3 separate regions of the Homo sapiens genome follow, and all the other regions are linked to region 2. The links are contacts of gene promoters, found by promoter capture Hi-C in human tissues and cell types (Jung and others, 2019). All regions are on one chromosome and are shown on one strand. The core of a region is centred on a gene start or on the middle of the fragment in contact, and the rest is flanking DNA. Distances in the headings are between cores, read along the strand shown. Region 1 overlaps LOXL2 (lysyl oxidase like 2). Region 2 holds the start of TNFRSF10D (TNF receptor superfamily member 10d). Region 3 overlaps LOXL2 (lysyl oxidase like 2).

What was found. The method cuts DNA at HindIII sites, captures the fragments that hold promoters and counts their contacts. A contact is called where the count stands out against the background at its distance.
Region 1: a contact is called between a fragment that was not itself captured here and the fragment with the promoter of TNFRSF10D in region 2, in 1 of the 25 tissues and cell types used here (spleen).
Region 3: a contact is called between a fragment that was not itself captured here and the fragment with the promoter of TNFRSF10D in region 2, in 1 of the 25 tissues and cell types used here (mesenchymal stem cells).

Annotation. Positions count from the first base shown.
Region 1 is chr8:23,297,211-23,302,133 of GRCh38, reverse strand. LOXL2 (lysyl oxidase like 2) reads left to right here. Exons shown (of 14, transcript NM_002318.3): 12 at 1-107; 13 at 3,187-3,298; 14 at 4,012-4,923. The coding sequence ends at 4,091. Among named protein-coding and RNA genes, the nearest start is that of R3HCC1, 12 kb to the right of the region's middle. RefSeq lists enhancers at 1-52, 53-553. The HindIII fragment of the contact is 3,041 bases long and covers 942-3,982 here.
Region 2 is chr8:23,161,347-23,165,917 of GRCh38, reverse strand. TNFRSF10D (TNF receptor superfamily member 10d) reads left to right here and starts at 1,891. Exons shown (of 9, transcript NM_003840.5): 1 at 1,891-2,132. The coding sequence starts at 1,983. RefSeq lists an enhancer at 2,034-2,153. The HindIII fragment of the contact is 7,003 bases long and covers 1-4,000 here.
Region 3 is chr8:23,398,119-23,403,070 of GRCh38, reverse strand. The region is part of intron 1 of LOXL2 (lysyl oxidase like 2); the gene reads left to right. Among named protein-coding and RNA genes, the nearest start is that of LOXL2, 3.5 kb to the left of the region's middle. The HindIII fragment of the contact is 7,857 bases long and covers 1-4,952 here.

The DNA of each region.
Region 1 (4,923 bases), core at 1,213-3,712, 140 kb before region 2:
TCGGCGATCAGGGCATCACCATGGGCTGCTGGGACATGTACCGCCATGACATCGACTGCCAGTGGGTTGACATCACTGACGTGCCCCCTGGAGACTACCTGTTCCAGGTGAGGTGGGTGGGAAGGGGTTCCAGCCCTGCAGGGGGAGGAGGGGAGGCCACCTCCACAGGCTCCTTCCCATTGGTGTCCACACAGGGGCATGGAAGTCAGGCTGTCTAAAGGGCAAGGTGCTACCCCCAGAGGCCATCACGGTCCATCAGTTAACCCAAAGATATCAGGCATGGGGGCCTGAGAAATAGGGCGTGCACAGGACCAGAGACACCACAGGCATTCACATTTGATTGAGTTAACACCTGGTGCATGCAAATCAAAACTCATCAGCAGGCTAGATTTGCTCCTCCGGCCAGTTTATTCCATACATGCTCAGGCAACCCACACCTCTTGTCTCCTATGGAGCTCTTGTCTCCACCATCCCCATTTCTCCTAGTGCCCTAGGCTGCCTTGGTCTGTGCTTTCAAGACTGAAAGCAAACTCATAAAGAGCCAGTCACTTGCAAATATCTGTGACTTAGCTCTTCCGGAAATATCTGCCTCATAGAGGAGGATCTGCAGAAGGGGCCATTCTCAATGCAAAGTGAATCTATAAGAATAAAATACTGAACACGAGACACAGCCTGGCCAGGTGACTTCTTTGTCAGAGGGGTTGCCGAGATTTGTTTCCACATACTCTGGGTGGAAGGCCAGCCCTGAGGAGGAACAAGGGGGCCTTGGCTTCCCTCCTTCCTGAAAACAGCGGCATGTTCTGGCCAGGGCTCTAACTGGGGGAGAAAAGGGGCATTGTGTCCCTAGTGTCTCTCCCAGTGCACGGGTACACGTAGCCTGCAGAAGCTTTATCTCACCCTCTCACTCTCTCCTACGTCCTCACCCATCTCGTTTTCCAGCTTGCCCTGTTGGCTAGCAAAGTGGATGACCAGAAATGTGTCATTCCACCTTGAAAGCTTTCCTGAGGGGGCATTCAGCCAGCCCAGGGCCTGGCCCACGGTCCCCACCTACAGACAGTCCTCTGAAGAAACAACACCTTCAGAGAAGTCACCACAGAGGGGCTTTCAGAGAATTCCTGGGCAGTTTCAGAGGCTGGAAAGCAGACAGCCAAGCACTTTTCCACCCACAAGCCCAGAACCACAGACTTGGAGAGGCCTAACCAGAGAGTTATTTATTTTAAAAGATGAATAGCCGTGGCCATGTGCACGTATACAGTGCCTGGTGGTTTCTGTTTGAGGTTTGCTATCATTTTGCTGGGTGAGTGTGTATCTCCCTGTATTCTGGCCAGTGCCATCCACTTAATAACTACTATCAATTGCCTAAGCCTGGGGAATGCATTGTTTGATTTAATCTCCCAAGGAAGGGGCATCATCATTACCCTCATTTCACGGCCACCCAACCCCAGACATATCAACTCTTTATTTTGTTTTCTCAACCCCTAAACAATACAATTAGCAAATGGACTCATTAGGGGCATGTTAATACCTCTGATTAATCAAAAAGAACATTCCCCTTAAGATAGACATGGAGCTTCTTTAGGTGCCACAAGCACCGGCCTGGGGACTCACGGGACACAAGAGGTGGTCTTCACTTCAGACATCAGTGGTGCTGTGAAGGACAGGAGGAGGGAGCTGGGCGAGGAGGAAGTGACCGTCCACGCAGAGGGACCTGTGCAGAGCTCAGAGGCAGGGGTGAAGGGGCCTCCTGGCTCCTGGTGGCCCCGCTTTATCCGCTTTCTCATCATTTCCTAGATTCACAGACATACAGAAACCTAAAGCCACTTCCCGCAGGCCCTCGTGAGATGTCGGTCTGCAGTAGATGAGTGGGGTGAAACAGTGGGGGACACACATTTCCAGCCCCGCCTCCACCCCACACGTAACACTGGCCCTCGTGTCCCCAACACGAGCCCTTGCTGCATCCAGCCGCCCTCACGGCTGCACTGTCGAGACGCCTGGGCGGCCAAGGAGCTGCCTAGGCCTGCACAGCTGGAGGCCTTGGCATGTGGAGCTGTGTTTGCCCCATGCCATGTGTGGGCCAGGAACGAGGGGGCAGCTAGAATGGTTGGGTGGAAAAGAAAAAACTCAAGCCGCCCCGGAGCAGGGCATGTACCTCCTTAGCTAAAGGCACAGGGCCCCAGCGGGACACAGCTGAGCCAGGTGCAGGCCCCCAGAACAGCCCCGCTGGGCCAGAGCAGAGGGCCGGCTGCCAGGCTGGCCTTGGCTTCCCACAGCACCTCTTTGGGCAAGCCCAGCGGCCTGCTAAAGGTTCGTGTCCAGGCCCTTCTGGGGCCCCAAATTTAGAGAATGTTCCTGAACGAGCAGCCTGTACCCGCCCCCCTGCTGTGGGTCGCAGCCCTTCCAAATGTGGCAGGACCCTCGAGGGAAGGCCTGTCATCTGTGTCCTCTGCCCCTCTGTTCACCACTGTTGTCTCTTCTCCCTCTCCCTCCCTTTCTCTTTTCTCCTCGGGTCCTCACCGTAAACCTCCCCTTTTCTGTTCCCTCACAGACACTCTCCCAGAATATGTCCTTCCTATTCCTGCTGTAGCTGGGGGGATGCGGATACAGGGGTGGGTGGAAGGATGGGGAGAGGGTGCAACTTCTCCAGCAGCCCCAGAGCCAGGCCCTCGGCCAGCAGAGCAGACAGGGACATGGATCCCCAAGTCCCACCTGTCACTTTACAGAGAGAGGAAGGGACATGTCCACAGTCACACGCCTGTGACGAGTGTCCCATCTCCAACGCCCAGGCAGCCCTCTTCCAGGTTCCCACACCGCCAGGTCCTCCCTGCACCCTTCTGCTTCTCTTCAGCATCTTCTTTTTGGGGCCTCCCCAGACCCCAACTTCTGCCTTCCCCAGAACTCCCAGGAGTGGGTGACCCCCTTCCGAAGGCCCACCCTGGGTAGAGGGGTGTGTGTTACACGGATATGGACAGAGGGCAGGGTTTCCCTCTTCCAGGCCATGCTTCCTCTGCTCCCTGACTCATCTCTTCCCCTCCCCAAGGACTTTGTTGAGACCCACAGACCCCCGTCTTGGGTCCCGGCACCTGCCACGCTCCCCTTCCCTGAGGTGCTGGTCTCTCAGAGCCCCAGGCCTGGGTGGAGGTGGCCGCAGAGGGAACAAGCAGCCTCCTCTGCCCTGCTTCTCCCTAGGTTGTTATTAACCCCAACTTCGAGGTTGCAGAATCCGATTACTCCAACAACATCATGAAATGCAGGAGCCGCTATGACGGCCACCGCATCTGGATGTACAACTGCCACATAGGTAAGGCCAGGCCGCCCCCACTCCAGGAAGCAGGCGGGAGCTGCCCTACTTTCTCAAGGACCCAGAGGCAGCTTCCTAATTTGGGTAAAGAGCTCGGGGAATGCAGCCAGCATCACATTTCCACATTCAGGACAGAAGCCACAGACACACAGGCCTGGATGGAGACTGAGTTTTTACAGCCAGCTCCGGCCACGGATAGAGGATGGTACAGGACCAGGCCAGCCCAGTGCAGACCCCAAGGCTTTTTAAGGGTTGGAGCTGAGGCCACTGGCTCATTATGTATGTGACCTCAAAAATGTGGGCATCAGCAATCTGTGGGCTCTGCCTATCAGGTTTTTCTGTCGAGAGCTGGAAGCTAGCAAACTACTGTTATTTCTAGTCTCCAATAAAGACACTTTTTTCCTTGGATGATAGGACTTGGGGAACAAAAGGGAAGGCAGAGCTTTTTCCTCTGCAGGAAAAGTCATGGGCCTCACTCTTGGCAAAAGGTTAAAATTAAAGGCGCTATATTTATTCACTCGTTCACTCAACTTTGACAGAGCACCTGCTATGTGCCCAGCCCTAGAGATGGCCAGTGCCTGGCACCTGTCCTTTTGAGGAGGGCACACACAGGTGGCCCCAGCAGCCCCTGAGGCCCACTCCCCTGGCTCAGGGTCAGGCAAGGCCCGAGCATCTCATTTGTCCACTCTCTCTACCCGATTCTCGCTCTTCAGGTGGTTCCTTCAGCGAAGAGACGGAAAAAAAGTTTGAGCACTTCAGCGGGCTCTTAAACAACCAGCTGTCCCCGCAGTAAAGAAGCCTGCGTGGTCAACTCCTGTCTTCAGGCCACACCACATCTTCCATGGGACTTCCCCCCAACAACTGAGTCTGAACGAATGCCACGTGCCCTCACCCAGCCCGGCCCCCACCCTGTCCAGACCCCTACAGCTGTGTCTAAGCTCAGGAGGAAAGGGACCCTCCCATCATTCATGGGGGGCTGCTACCTGACCCTTGGGGCCTGAGAAGGCCTTGCGGGGGTGGGGTTTGTCCACAGAGCTGCTGGAGCAGCACCAAGAGCCAGTCTTGACCGGGATGAGGCCCACAGACAGGTTGTCATCAGCTTGTCCCATTCAAGCCACCGAGCTCACCACAGACACAGTGGAGCCGCGCTCTTCTCCAGTGACACGTGGACAAATGCGGGCTCATCAGCCCCCCCAGAGAGGGTCAGGCCGAACCCCATTTCTCCTCCTCTTAGGTCATTTTCAGCAAACTTGAATATCTAGACCTCTCTTCCAATGAAACCCTCCAGTCTATTATAGTCACATAGATAATGGTGCCACGTGTTTTCTGATTTGGTGAGCTCAGACTTGGTGCTTCCCTATCCACAGCCCCCACCCCTTGTTTTTCAAGATACTATTATTATATTTTCACAGACTTTTGAAGCACAAATTTATTGGCATTTAATATTGGACATCTGGGCCCTTGGAAGTACAAATCTAAGGAAAAACCAACCCACTGTGTAAGTGACTCATCTTCCTGTTGTTCCAATTCTGTGGGTTTTTGATTCAACGGTGCTATAACCAGGGTCCTGGGTGACAGGGCGCTCACTGAGCACCATGTGTCATCACAGACACTTACACATACTT
Region 2 (4,571 bases), core at 642-3,141:
AGTCTTCCTGAAGTCCCTGACCTTTCACCTCCTGCCTGGATCTGCACCCCGCACACATTCCTGACCCCACACATTTCTCATTGCCTGGGTCCTGGCACACATTTCTGACCCTAGCTCAGTGTCTGGGGCCTGGCACACATTTCCGACCCTAGCTCAGTGCCTGGGGCCTGACACACATTTCTGACCCTAGCTCAGTGCCTGGGGCCTGACACACATTTCTGAGTCTAGCTCAGTGCCTGGAACCTGGCACACATTTCTGACCCTAGCTCAGTGCCTGGAACCTGGCGCACATTTCTGACCCTAGCTCAGTGCCTGGGGCCTGACACACATTTCTGACCCTAGCTCAGTGCCTGGGGCCTGACACACATTTCTGAGTCTAGCTCAGTGCCTGAAACCTGGCGCACATTTCTGACCCTAGCTCAGTGCCTGGGACCTGGCACACATTTTTTTTTCTTTTTTTTTTTTTTCACAGAGTCTCGCTCTGTCACCCAGACTGGAGTGCAGTGGCACGAATCTCGGCTCACTGCAACCTCCATTTCCTGGGTTCAAGCAATTCTCCTGCCTCAGCTTCCTGAGTAGCTGGGATTACAAGTGCCCGCCACCACGCCCAGCTAATTTTTGTATTTTTAGTAGAGATGGGGTTTAACTATGTTGGCCAGGCTGGTCTCGAACTCCTGACCTCTTGATTCGCCCACCTCAGCCTCTCAAAGTGCTGGGACTACAAGCGTGAGCAACCGCGCCCGGCCCTGGCTCACATTTCTGACCCTAGGTCATTGTCTGGGCCCTGGAAGGTGCTCAGGGTGATCCATCGCTCAAATCCAAGCCTGTGGAGAGGATGACATTTCATTCCCAGGTTTCTCATGAGCCAAAAAACCTTCATTTCTATAGCGCTATCCTCTTCTATCTACCATGTGAGGGGTCAGGAGCCGACTCATCCCAAGGGTCTAGGAGTCCTGCCATTGACCTTACTGCTTAGGGTCACAAGCTGGCACCCTTCAAAACCACACATTGGGTCTGCCCTCACAGCGGCAGTGTGTTCAACTGGATGGGGAGGTAAGTAGCCCAAGGTCAGACAGTTGGACCTGGGTAGACAATAGACTTGGGGACAGACTTTGGAAGGCACTCCCCTGATTCCCCTGTCTCCATGGGGCCTCAATACTAGAGCCCTCAAGGTTGGTCAGGGAGTGTTTGTGCTTTGACCATGCAAAGGGTGCCAGGTTGTGGCTAGGGATGCCCCCGGCGTTCCTCTCCCTCCTACCTACTCCTCAGCCTCTGCAGGTGCCTGTCATGGCCTCTGTGTCCTTCATTCTGTCCACTCATGTGTTCACTGGGCCCCTCCTTGGTGCCAGGCACCCGCTACTGAGGGATACCAAGCCCCTGCCAGAGAAGCTTGGAGCTGGGTCACAGCAGCAAGGAGGCTGGAGACATCAGTGGCATCAGTGCACTGGTCAGTGAGGCCGCTGTGGGAGGAGGGAGTGGGAGCAGAAGCTAAGAGTGGACTGAAGTCCTGAGGCCAGGAAGTAGTTCAGGGTTTAAGAAGAGGAGAGACAGGCGGCCCGGGGAGGGAGCAGGCTCAGGATGGGCCTCCAGTGCCTCCTCTGGAGCTCACTACCCAGACTACAGCAGCGCAGCGGGCAGCGCCTCAGCTCCTTCCCCTTCTGCTGCCTACAGCCTGGACAGGACCCGGAATCAAACCGCAGGCCCTGGGTCACCGCTGCCGGAAAGAGCCAGTTCCTGTCCGTCCATGCACCCACCCACACAACCTGGGCCCTCCTGGAGGTGCTGGGGGAGACCCAGCCTGAGTGCCTGGAAGTGACTGCGGGAAGGGAGTACAACTGACCACGCCTTTTTTCCGGGGTATAAAAGCGGAGGAGCACGTTCTATTCTGGCAGTGTAGCTGCGAGAACCTTTGCACGCGCACAAACTACGGGGACGATTTCTGATTGATTTTTGGCGCTTTCGATCCACCCTCCTCCCTTCTCATGGGACTTTGGGGACAAAGCGTCCCGACCGCCTCGAGCGCTCGAGCAGGGCGCTATCCAGGAGCCAGGACAGCGTCGGGAACCAGACCATGGCTCCTGGACCCCAAGATCCTTAAGTTCGTCGTCTTCATCGTCGCGGTTCTGCTGCCGGTGAGTCTCCGCCGCGGTCCCTGGCTGGGGAAGAGCGCACCTGGCGCCGGGAGTGGGCAGGGAGAGAGGGGGACACGGTGGGGATGCTTGGCCCGGGTCGCCTGCGGCCGGGCATGTCTGGGCAGGACGAACCCGCCGTCGGAGTCAGGGGAAGAGTGGGGTGCCCGGGCTGGGCAGGAGCGACCGGGCCGCGAGGGAGCAGAGCGCGCGCTCCCCCTGGCTGTCCCGTGCGGCGAGGACCGCACTGAGCTGCCCCAGAGGAAGTTCCAGAATCAGCGGAGGGAGGGAGTCAAGATGGAAACCCCGGAGTGAACCTCAGGAAGCCACAGAGCGGTTGCCTCTTTCGTTCGTTCGTTCGTTCGTTCGTTCATAACGTTAACCCAGGCCGGTCGCGGTGGCTCACGCCTGTAATCCCAGCACGTTGGGAGGCCGAGGCGGGCGGATCACCTGAGGTCAGGAGTTGGAGACCAGCCTAGCCACCATGGTGAAACCCCGTCTCTACTAAAAATACAAAAATTAGCCGGACGTGATGGCGGTCGCCTGTAATCCCAGCTACTCGGGAGGCTGAGGCAGAAGGAGAATCACTTGAATCCGGGAGGCGGAGGTTGCAGTGAGCCGAGATCGCGCCATCGCACTCCAGCCTGGTCAACAAGAGCGAGACTCCGTCTCAAAAAAAAAAAAAAAAAAAAAAAAAAAGTTAGCCAGGCGTGGCAGCCTGCGCCTGTAGTCCCAGCTACTCAGGAGGCTGAGGCAGGAGAACTGCTTGAACCCGGGAGGCAGAGGTTGCAGTGAGCCGAGATTGCACCACTGCACTCCAGCCTGGGCGACAGAGCGAGACTCTGCCTTAACAAAAACAGACAAACAAACAAACAAAATTAACCCTATGTTTACACTGTTACACGTGTTTCTTGGAGATCAGTTTAACAAACAGCCTGTGAAAAAGCTTTCCAACGCTGTTTTTTGTAACTTTCATTTCCTATAGAACCCTGAAAGTGGCAGGAAGCGGTTAACCAAGGTGCTTGCAGTCAGTGTCTTCCACTGCCACCCGTGTGTCCCCTCTGTATCCCATAGGCAGGACCGCGGGATGGCCCCTTCCTTAGGCATAAAAGATGTAAAGTTCTCGTTGTGAGTTGGGTTTGGAAACTGAGATTGGTAGTGGGGTGCACAAGAAGGACATAAAAATAAGATGTGCAGACTGCCAGGACTTTTTCTGAGTGACTGACGTTTCTGCCAACAGTGCTTTCTAAGGTTTCTTACGTAATACCAAAAAACAAAACGGGGAGGATAAAACAAGATTACATGAACCATGAGAGTCTCCATGTTTTCTTTCAACGAAGTAATACTAAATTCAGAACAGCAGTGACATTTTCACCTCTCAAAAATTACACAACTGACTTCTACAATAGTTTATAGTGGGTGGACCTACCTGAGGCAGCTAGAAGAATGGCTGTGTCAGGACAGTGGCCCTGAAGAGAGAATGTGTGGATGACCTGTGTAGACAAGACCAGCAACCTGAATTTCACAGTTTTGGGAATGTGAACTCTATGCGTCCCAAAGGAGGCTTTGATCCCTCCATCAATCTTGCCTTATTAAATGCATTTCAATGCACAGTTGCTTTTTAAAATTTTGGAGCTAGCACAAATCACATTAGATGTTTTATGGCAGTACATTCAGATTGATTTTCTTTTAAACAAGGGTATTGTATTTTACTACATGGGTAAGCCACAGGTTAATTCACTGTTGCCATCTAGAGGCAGCTGGTTATATCCCATCCCGATGGGATATAACCCAAAGCAAATTTGCCTTTGCTAATTCCAACAGCATTGTACTAAATACCCTTGTATGTATCGTGTGTCCACATGTCCATGCGCACCAGCTTATTGGGCAACTCCTTAGAAGTAGAATTTTACTTCTACTTCCGTGGGATAAATCATTTCAGAAGTTTCTTTAGATGTTTACGAATTTTCTTCCAAAAGACCATTGAACTCAGCTTACACTCACACCTAGTTCACACATGTGCCTGTATCCCTACACCCTTGTTACACTTAGCTTTCATTCGTTGCTAGTCTAGGAAGTAAAAGGTGATTCATCACATTGTTATGTACTTTCATTCCTTAATGGTATTAGGAATTTTCAAGGATACGGGAGTTTTGGTAGTGGGAGTAGATGACCGGGGGATCCAGATGAGACAGCAGGGGAGGGTGGCAGGGAAGACTGAATTCCCAGCTGTGAACTTGGAGAACCGTGGTCAGCTGGGGCCAGTCCCTGCCACCTGCCACGCCTGTAAATGGAGATAAGGTCTCCATCTTCAGGCTGTCAGGAGGACATCAGATGAGCCTGGAGCTGAGCTCAGTTCCTGACCCCAGGTCCTGGCTCTGTCAGCGTTGGACTGTTCCAATCTGTGTGACAGAGGCTTCCGCCCCGCCCTTCTCTTTATCA
Region 3 (4,952 bases), core at 1,261-3,760, 240 kb before region 2:
TCAGCGCTGGAATAGAGATGATTGGGAGAACAAGCGAGGTTCCCTCCTCTCCGTGCCCGAGCTAAGACCATCAAAAAACAGCCGGAGTGCGGGGCGGAGCGGGGCGAGGGTGTGAGGAAGAGAACACCGCAGAACACGGCGAGGGAGGGGGCTGAACTACTCAATATGGTTAGGAAACCCCAAGTCCTGATGAGGGGAGAGATGTGCATGACAGAAACATGCTCCAAATTAGTTTCGTCCCTAAGATCTTGAAACTGCAGAGATCTCAAAAACAATACTTTTTTTTTTTTTCTCCCAGAGGAAGAAAAACGCTGAGGCTCACGGTCACTGAGTTAGTCAATGTGGGGACTGAAACCCATACCTCTTACTCCAGGCCCCTCCCCTACACCACTGCTAGCCTGTCCGTCCTGGAACCCCAAAACAACATTTGTCATCTTTGGTGGAATGAATTAGTTATTGATGGTGTATCATGTACTTAATGGTCAGGGTTGGGGTTTAGGGTGGAAGAGGAAGAGTTCATTTCCCTGGTCAGTTCCCAGATAAGTGACTGACTCACTGGATCCTAACTTGACTAAATTTTTAATCTTTCTCCTCACCTTTGTCCCGTTCCTCTTCCTGGTCCCTAGTATCTGCCCTGGAATGGCCACCAGAGCCATGACAAGATGCGTGCTCCCCATGGGCCCCAGTGGCTACCAAGGCTCTCCCCAAGGAAATTGAGTCTCACTAATCTGTGTGTGCACGCGCGCACGTTTGTGTATGCATGTGTGCACGTGTATGTGTGGGCACATGTATGTGTGCATGTGTGTGTCTCCACACGAGTGTGTTTGTGTATGTGTGTGCACCGGTGTGTGTTTATATGCGCACACAGGTGTGTGTGCGCGGGCACGTGTGTGTGCACGCAATGTGTGTGCATATGTATTCCTGTGTGCATGTGTGCACACCTGTATGTGTATATGTGTATTTGTGTTTGTGTGCATGTTTGCATGTGTATGTGTGTGTGCGCGTTTGTGCACTTGTGTGTATGTGTGTGCACGCATGTGTGCACGTGTGTATATGTATATGTGTGTTTGTGCATGCATGTGCATTTGCTTCCCTGTAACTTTGTGTTAGAAAGTGACTTAGTCTAAGGTCACTTAGGCATTGAGTGGCAAAGTTGAGTATGAAACTCAGGTCTGAAAACAAAACGTACTTAACACCACACATTGGCTGACATTTTAAGTATCACAGATAGGAGATTCTGCAAAGATGCTTCCTTTTATTTTCTTTCCAACTGGCCTCTCCTGGCCTCTTCCCAAGTCCTTGTCCTTTGACCTCTAGATGGCCAGTGTGGAAGGGCTTTGTGAAGGAAACAGATTTTCTGTGCTCTAGATAGACATGACCATCAGCGAAGGTGTTGAGTCCCAGAAAACACTACATTGTTTATTTTTTATTCTCAAAAAATTTCAAGTATGCAAAAAAAGTAGAGAGAAGGGTATAATGATGCCTCATAAGCTTCTCACTGAATTTCAACAGTTATTTTGCCACATGTACGTCATCTGTCCCTTTGTTTCTGTCATTGAAGTAGTTTAAAGCAAATCCTATACATCATGTCATTTCATTGCTACATATTTCAGTGTGATTTCTAAAGATTTTACATAACTATGATGCCATATTTAGACCTAAGAAAACTAAAAAAAAAATATTTGGTATCATCTAATGCCAAATAGCAGTCTATATTTAAGCATTTCCCAATTTTCCTCAAAATGTCTTTTTTTATAGTTGATCTGAGTTCTGTTGATTTGTGTAACTTGTTACATTCCTATTGTTATGTTCTTCCTTTCAAACTACTTTTCTGTCCACTATGTCATTTGATTCTTACAAGGTCCCACTAAAGAGTTAGGTGAGTATTTTCAAATTCATTTCTCAGCTGAGGAAATGGATAAACAGATAAGCTGTCCAGAGGGCACAGCTGGTGACCCAGGGAGCCAGGGTCTAACCCAGCCTCCTCATGGCTGGGCTTCGGTGGTTCTGGTTCTCCATGTTACTCGTGGACTCTCAGCTGCTCTCTGAAGAGTTCTTCTTGGCTCAGGCTTCATCCTGGGCTTATCACTTCCTATACACCTGCTGTCAGAAATCCCTGTGTAAATATTAGTAATTGGACATTTGGTGCTTGAGATAAATGAACTGCAAAATCAGGAAGCCAGGGTTTGTTTCCTAGCTCATTGCAAAACTGTAAGGGCTCAGAGCTGCCCTCTCTGAACTAGAGAGCAGTGTACTTCCTCATTATTTGACTCCAAGGTGTAAAAATAGGATGAGTGAAATGACTGTTGCTGGGATTCCTGGAAGAAACAAAGGCCCCAGAAAGAAATCTAGTAGAGGACAATCTCCCCTCTCTGAGCATCACCTGAGTACTCTGACAGCTGGTACCTTCATGCTGAAGCCCTCAAATCCTATGACAGAGAAGTAGGGGTATATAGGCTTCCCATTGAAGCCCTTAGTTTATGCATGACTTTATTCTGCATTTGACCAATGAAGATATGCAACACCTGATATGGCTTGGCTGTGTCCCCACCCAAATCTCATTGTGAATTGTAGCTGTCATAATTCCCATGTGTTGTAGGAAAGACCCGATGAAAGGTAATTGAATCATGGGGGTAGATCTTTCCCCTGAGAAGTAAATCTCGTGAGATATGGTTTTATAAATGGGAGTCCCCTGTACATGCTCTCTTGCCTGCCACCATGTAAGATGTTCCTTTGCTCTTCCTTTGTCTTCTGCCATGATTGTGAGGCCTCCCCAGCCATGTGGCATTGTGAGTCCATTAAACCTCCTCCCTTTACAAAGTACCCAGTCTCGGGTATGTCTTTATTAGCAGCATGAGAACAGACTAATACAACACCAGAGCCTTCTGCTTTTAGCATTTTCATTACTTAAGTTTATTTGCTTTTGAAATGGAGCGAAGAAGAAATTTCTCCACCTTGTTAATGAGACTCATAAGTTGGAATTCTCCTTTCTTGGCAGATCATGTGGGAAAAAGGAATCTCTTGGCACAGGACTCCTAGATGTTCTGCTGTTACGCTTGTTGCTTTGAAACAGGGAATGAACAGACCTTCCATAAAATAGCCAGTTAGAGGCAGAGAAACTGGTCAACCCGATTCCATCCAACGGGAGGAACTCCGAAGTGGCAAGACATTAACCTTAAATCACCCTGCCTTCTGACGGCCATAGATTCTTTTTCCTTAGCTAATAGGCTGTCTCCATGGAGGAAGAATTTCTAGGTGATTCCACACCAGCAGCTGCAGTTGCACAAGCATGACTGCTTCCTTCATTTTAAAGTTTGGGGAGCCTTAGGAGGTGTTTTAGTCCATTTTCTGTTGCTTATAACAGAATACCTGAAACTCGGTAGTTTATTAAACAAAAGGAATTTAGTTCTTACAGTTATGGAGACTGAGAAGTCCAAAGTCCAGGAGCTGTACCTGGTGAGGGCCTTCTTGCTGGTGGGGACTTGGCAGTATCCCAAGGTGATGCAGGACCATCGTGAGGGGGCTGAGCATGATAACATGCTAGCTCAAGTCTCTTTTCCTCTTGTAAAGCCACCAATTCCCTTCCCATGATAACCGATTCATCTATTAATTGGTGAATGGATTCATCAGTTTATGAGGGCAGAGCACTCATGATTCAACCACTTCTTAAAGGCCCCACCTCTCAAAACTGCCACATTGGGGATTAAATTTCAACATGAATTTTTTGGAGGGACACCTATTCAAACCACAGCAGGAGATATGATTTCCCATTCCCAGGGGCTGCCTGGCTTTAAAAGAGCAGCTTGTTACTGTCATCGTCCATTTCCCCCTGGAGAAAGGCTTTTGTGGTCGGTCTGCATGGCAGTCACACCCTGGGTGGTCCATGAGGCCTCAGATGAAGTGGCCCGAGGCCACTCTGCTCTAGGCCCACAGACAAGGCGGGAATAGCAGTTGCAGGCTAGAAAAGGAAGGGCCAACCAGACATTCACAGAGATGCAACCAGAGCAACACACAGCTGAGTCTCTTAAGTCTTCAGTCCTGTGTAAGTTGAAGCAAGACATCAGAAATCTCTCACCTGAGTAATTCCACACATGCACCCACTGCTGTCCAATGCAGTGCTTGCTCAGCAGGGAGCACCTCTTGGCCAAGCGTATTGGCAGCCCTTCTACCGTGACCAGCGTCAGGGACGTCTCTAGGCGCCTTTTCAGAATAGCTGGCAACATAGGGAGACCCAGTCTCTACCAAAAAAAAAAAATTAGCCAGGCATGGTATAGTCCCAGCTACTCAGGAGGCTGAGGCAGGAAGATTGCTTGAGCCCAGGAGGTCAAGGCTATAGTGCATTCCAGCCTGGGTGACAGAGTGAGACCCTGTCTCAAAAACAAAGAAAGAATAGCCACTTGGTTGATGATGATAAAGGATGCTGGGGACTGTGTAGTTCAGACTTCTGTCCAGAGTTTTAACAAATCTTTTGCACTTTCTGTGGCAGAAATACTATTACCAGGCAAGTAGTGTGTGTGGCAGATGAGAACAAGAACTAACTCAGCAGATGCTGAGGTTGTGGTTAGGAACACAGTTAGTAGGTTCTTCTTGTCCAGGGCTTTTGATCCCTTCACTTGGGATACCTTAAGTATTATATTTAATTATAGTCTTCTAAGCAAAGAGTGATGTTTTCTTTTTAGTTTTTTCATTCCTACGATCCACGTCAGACAAGCAGACACAGCTGGCCCTCTGGATGTCCTGTGGCAACAGACATATCCTCCTTGATGTGTTGCCAACAAAGTGCTGAGGGTATCTTCTGCAAAAATGATGCCACTTGCCTATAAAACATACACTTACGACAAGATAACTTATGGTGATGACTTGTGAACAACTTAATTTGCAGTTTCTTTATAATATCTTTCTGGAACTTGGATCCATGAACTTCTTTTGCCCCCAGGCTTGTCCTGATATAC